Regions from separate parts of the Homo sapiens genome. Here region 1 is linked to region 2. The links are contacts of gene promoters, found by promoter capture Hi-C in blood cells and fetal thymus (Javierre and others, 2016). All regions are on one chromosome and are shown on one strand. The core of a region is centred on a gene start or on the middle of the fragment in contact, and the rest is flanking DNA. Distances in the headings are between cores, read along the strand shown.

Evidence for each region. Contacts are between HindIII fragments. The CHiCAGO score rates a contact against its expected background, and 5 or more counts as called.
Region 1: a contact is called between a fragment that was not itself captured here and the fragment with the promoter of TMPRSS11E in region 2, in 1 of 17 cell types (erythroblasts). The highest score is 5.4, in erythroblasts.

Annotation. Positions count from the first base shown.
Region 1 is chr4:69,458,377-69,461,223 of GRCh38, reverse strand. No RefSeq gene overlaps it. Among named protein-coding and RNA genes, the nearest start is that of UGT2B4, 36 kb to the left of the region's middle. The HindIII fragment of the contact is 1,470 bases long and covers 645-2,114 here.
Region 2 is chr4:68,445,744-68,448,827 of GRCh38, reverse strand. It overlaps TMPRSS11E (transmembrane serine protease 11E), which reads right to left and starts at 1,365. Exons shown (of 10, transcript NM_014058.4): 1 at 1,305-1,365. The coding sequence starts at 1,315. The HindIII fragment of the contact is 3,931 bases long and covers 294-3,084 here.

The sequences.
Region 1 (2,847 bases), core at 130-2,629, 1.0 Mb before region 2:
TTTATCAAAGTATCTTTGATAACACTAAAACAGCCATTATCGATGTTTAATTGGAAACAGAGCAGCAAAGAAAATAAATATAAGATCACCTTGTTCTTGTAGAATAATACAAGAAATATATGGTGGGTTACAATTTTCTAAATGTATACAAAATAATATACATTTAGTTATAGGAATAAAGACTAGAATAAAAGCATAAAGTGTTAAACAGGGTATCTGTGTATGGAGTGACTCTTACTTTTTCATTCTCTTTCAATTTTCTTACAACACGCTTGCATAATTTTCATAAGGATATCACAGAAAGAGAATGAACTTTCCATGTTAGTTATTAACCTTCAAACAGAGATGACATACTGCAACACTGTAAGTTCCACCCCTAAAAGGTTTTAGGCAGGAAACCATTGAGATGAAACGTTGAACACAGGTTACTTTATATGTTGCCACAAGTAACTGGAATCATACAGAATACTTGTTTTATGTGGTTGATATAATTAGTATAGTGACCTTCATTTTGAAACTAATGTCATAAGGTTAAAGTCACACTTTTGAAGAATGCTCTGGACAATACATATTTGGCACAGTGAAAGGCTGAATGGTTTTTCCTTTTATCTTTTTCCTTTGAAAAATTGTTTTTAAAGTAAGCTTTACATCCATGATTTATATCAGAAAGTACACTTTTTATGTTCAAAGGGTTTGATCATTATTTTACAGAAAGTAAAGTTAAATGGTGAATGTAAAACACAAGGAATAACAAAAAAGTGAGTATACAGTTTTGACAGGAGAACAAGGAAACTTTGGCTTCTCCATATTTCTTTTTTGGTGGGAAAGTACATCAAGTAACATGGGAATTACTCGTTTACAGAAAGAAATTGAATTTTAAAACTCGTAAGTAGAAGGGATCACAAGTAAGAATAATTCTCAAACAAATCCAGGAAAACAAGTCTTTAGCAGGAGTTTTCTGAAGCGTGAAGTGAGCTGCTCAAGAGAGTGACCGGATCTTTTCTGGAGAAAAGCCTGGTGGACCTCTCCCACTGAAGTGTGCATGTGCATCCTCCGCATAGGACATGGTGAGGTGATGATGAGAGTCCCTCGAAGCCAGTTGTACATAACACATTCCATGAGGGTGCCAATTTTACAGTAAGATATCAGAGTAACAGGTGTCACCCATAAACAAACCCAGAAATATGTAACTATACATGTTTACTTATGGATTATCAGTAGGATTTTGAGGATGAGTTCACAGAAATTCAAAACCATACACCAGTCAAAACCATGCACCAGGCTTCGGGATGTCAGCAATTCTTACCTTATGTGATGAAGGAGTGATTTAGAAGGAAGGTTTGGGAAATTCTGACAAATTTTAAGATAGGTTAGAAATAATTATACAGTTGAGAGAAATATATAATATCTTCCCAATCATAAGTGACTTTTCCTTAGTAGCATAATCAAGGAAATGAAATTATAATGACTACATTAAAGTAATGATTTAGAAAACCTCCCTGAAATAAAAACAAGTTACTTAGGAGAACAATAACAATATAAAATTAAAGAGAAGTAAACAGTGGTAGTCTTCCTAAGAATCTATATTAGTGATTACAAGAGCTTGGTTCCCATATTTTTAACTGTATCTTTCCCTCACTACTGTGTAAAGATACTAATTTATTTCTTACTTTACATACTTAATCAAATACATACACACACACACGCACATGCACACACTTACATAACTACAGATTAATAATAGAGAAAATTGATGTTGTATAACATAAGTCTTTCCAAAGGAACTGAGCGATGTCGTATTTAAAAAACTGGCACTACTAGAAGTCAGTATGGAGGTTTCTCAAAAAATGTTAAAGATAGAATTAACATGTGATACAGAAATTCCACTTCTGAATTGTATTAATAAGAATGAAAATCAGGATCTCAAAGAGATATTTGCACATCTATGTCCATAACAGCACTATTACAAAAGCTAAGAGCTGGAAACAATCCAAATGTCTATCAAGGAACAAATATATAACAACTGTAACTGCTATATGTTATATACACGAAATAAAATTTTACTCAGCCTTAAAAAAAGGAATTGTGACACATGCTACAATGTAGATGAAGCTTGATGTCATTAGACTAAGTGAATAAATCAAAAAAGACAAACACTGTAATCCACTCATATAAGGTATTTAAACTGTGAAATTCATAGAAAAAGAAAGTGATTAGTAGGTAAAAAGGAGAGCATAAAATGGAAAGTTGTTGTATATTAGGTATAGAGTTTTCATTTTAGAAGAAAAAAATTCCGAAGATTGATTGCATAGCATTGTGAATATATCTAGCATTCTCTGTGTACTTAGAAGTGGTTATGATGGAAAGTTTCATGCATGTTTTACCATAGCCACTCCGCTAACAATTCTGGCTGATACTTGATTTTTTCTACTTAGTTTCTTGTAGCAATTCTTCCAATAATGTTGGCTGTGTTATTGCTCTTTTGTGACAGAGCAAATTATTTCTTCATAGGAAATGAAAACTTTCCCAGAGATCTGGAGAAAATAGCATTGCATCGTTGTCTCTGGGGTCAATGGTCAGTAACATCACAGAGGAAAGGGTCAATGTGATTGCAACAGCCTTTGTGCACTTCTCTCCAAAGGTTAGATAAATTGCCTGAGTGATGGAAAACTACTGAAAAGAGCTTTAAACTCTGTAAAGGGTTAAAGGATAAAAATTTCCTGCCTGACAAGTTAGCTTTTCAGATAATTTGAATTCACCTCAGATGTCAGTTTAAAAACAATGTATATGACAGATAATAAAATGGTAAGAGTTTTTTTGATGAACAGTACTTTGGCATGACCATTA
Region 2 (3,084 bases), core at 116-2,615:
GATGTGCTTCATCTTTCATACAATCTTCAGATCAGGAAGACGTTTTTGTTTGTTAGATGGTTGGTTTTGGTTTTTGGTTTTTTCCATGAGAGATTATTTGCATCTATTCTGCAGCAGGATTTTTAAAAATAGTCACATCTTTTGCTTCAAATTAGAGACTACACTCAGAAAAATTCACTCCAGTATTCCCACATTATACCGCCTCTACACATTTATAACCAAATTCCAAATCTCTGACATATACCATAGATAAGGCTTGTAATCTATTTAGTATGTTAAGTTTATTGGAAGCTTTCTTGAAGCACTGTTTTCTATAGTAAAGTCAATGAGAAAAAGAGAATAGGATACAAAACCATCATTGGTTGTAAAGAAATACTTGCAAAAGGCAGGGAGCCTTGATAAGCCCAACAAAATGTTTAGTATCCGTAGCTTTTAGTTGCTTCATGGATATGTACAGAAGAGTATTAAACTTCTAATAACAAGTATGTAGAACTTTCAACTGATGACAGAACCTGTTTTTCCATGTTAAATGAAGACCACAGATTTCATTCAAAGTTTAACATTTTCAAACTGTTCTCAAAGTAAAAACTAATAAAAAATGATATGCCAATATGAGAATCAGAGAAAATAAATTTTAATCAGGAGATAAAATTATTTTCAAAGACAAAACTAGTACCCCAAAACCTTGTTACTGATTAGTTTCTAACTTTGAAAGAAAACCTCAAAATGATCATGACTTATCTTTGGAGAAGTTGACTATGGCCAGGCATATCAGTGGATTTATTTTTTAAATCAGGCTATAATAATTTAGTCATATTATTTTCTTCAGTTGTTTCTGATTCTTTCAAAACATCTAGAGTTTTTAAATTTTTAACTACTTACAGAAATAAACATTTTTTTCTGCATTATTTCAGACTTTTTTTCATGTACACCTTCTAAAATAAAAGTGTTTCTCAATAAGACAAACAAAGCCCAAGCTAAAAATATGTTATATCTTTCTTGAAACATATGGCCAAACTAACTAAAAGACAGCTGTCAAACACCATGTACCTTTACATTGTGTAGAAACCTTCTAAAAGTAAACAGAAAAACACATGGGATACAACAAAAGAGGACAGGAAACACTAATACAGAAAGAATAGAAATCTTTTTCTTGACATAATTTTATGTAAAATCTCAAAAATATGTTTCTATATTTAAAAAAATAATAAACTGTAGATCTACACATTCCTTGGTGTGGCTCATACTGTTTTAAACTAAAAGTTACCTTAAGACTTCTAGAAAGAAAAAGGGAACTAACTCACCGATACATCATTGCCAACCAGCAATGAAGAGTCCTGTGAAGGTCGAGGTCTACATCCAAGTGTGTGAATCCAGCTCTATCAATGACTTTGTGGGCTGAATTGAAGTGAGGAAATAAGTCACTGATGATCTCAACAGAACCAGTCTGACAAGTCTTGGCTGGTGTAGTGGGGACTATATGTGACTAGCAGGACAAGGACAAATTTTACAGGGAGCAAGAGCAAAAAATAAATTTATAATTTATTGTTTTAAGATAATTTCTTTTAAGTATTAGTGTAAACCAGATTTTTTAGAAAAGTCAGACGTATAAATTTGGAAAGAAATTTTAAAACTATCTTGCTTGACCTTCTCTTGTTTACAGAGAAGAAACTGAGGTTTAATTAAGTTAAATGACTTGGTCAAAAACCAAATAGTTATTAAATTGCCAAGCCAGGACTGACATTCATATTTTTTAAACTAGCCTGACACAATTTGCATTCGATTATGTACATAATAAAAATTTCACTTTGGTTTTAACTATGTTAGCCATTGAAAATACACTAGAGATTAGAAAAGCATTAATATTTTTAAATTATGTGGCATCATTCTTCTAGAAAAATCAGTTAGTTTGCAAATGTCAACCCATACTTAAGACGTTATATTTCTTTCATTATAGTGGAGACAGGCATATCAACTCACGCTGAATCACTACTGTCTTATTTCTAGGGTGAAAATTACATTTTTTTAAACGTGTGCTCACATACTATGCAAATATCTGTGTGTTTGTGTTAGGTATAATCTCTAAATTGCTTTCCCTAATCCTTACAAAACAGAGTAGGTGTTTCTCCTCTGTGCTTTCATGGTATCATAATACTTACCTCATTATACTAGAAATTTTATTAATTGTATCTCAACTCCACAAGGTTGTGAATTCTTAACAGACTGAAACCCTCTTCCTAGCATATTCAGGCTCTCAAAAATATGCATAAAAAGAATGAGTAGAGGGCAGGTTGCAAGGAAAGGAGGAGAAAAAGAGGGGGTATAACCCATCCTAAAAAGCACCTTAAAAATATTGTTTAATTTCATTACATATCCATTTAGCCAACAGCTCACCTAAACAGATGCAGGAGTTGGAATTTATGTAATGTGTGGGATCAGACGGCCAAGAATTGGAATCATTCACTAGCAGTAACCCAAGAAACCTCTGTGCTGAGGCATACTGTGCTAGGGGCTACCAACATATATCCTTTTTATTCTGGTCACTAGGTCACTTATCCTGATGAATAGCATGGATATTTATTTACTTAAAGTCATTCAATATATAGTATTAGGTTTCTGTATACTCATTTAAAAATTACACTTTAGCCAAAAATAAAGAGGCAATAATAACAGTAAAAACTTCTGGGTTATGAGATTAAGCTGTTCTTATACAGCCTTTAACAAAGTGAAATCTCTGCCAATGAAATGTTAATATGGTTTAATAATACTATGTTCTATTTTATACTCACATTTTATGAAAATATTGATAATACTTTTGTTTTCAAAGGAAAACAGATTCCCTCTCAGTGTAACTTTGGGCCAAGACTTGCCAGACTTATTTTAACAAAATCTCAAGACATTTGTTTCTTTCACAAAATCAAGATTTCAAATTCAAATAAATTCTTTATATAGGCCTATGGACCTGTATACTTAGGGTAATATATAACCTAGAATTGTAGATACAGAAAATGAGAGGGCTATCATGAATTTTTTTAAAACTCTGTGAGTATAAGCTACAATTTGTAGAAAATTAAGAGATTACGC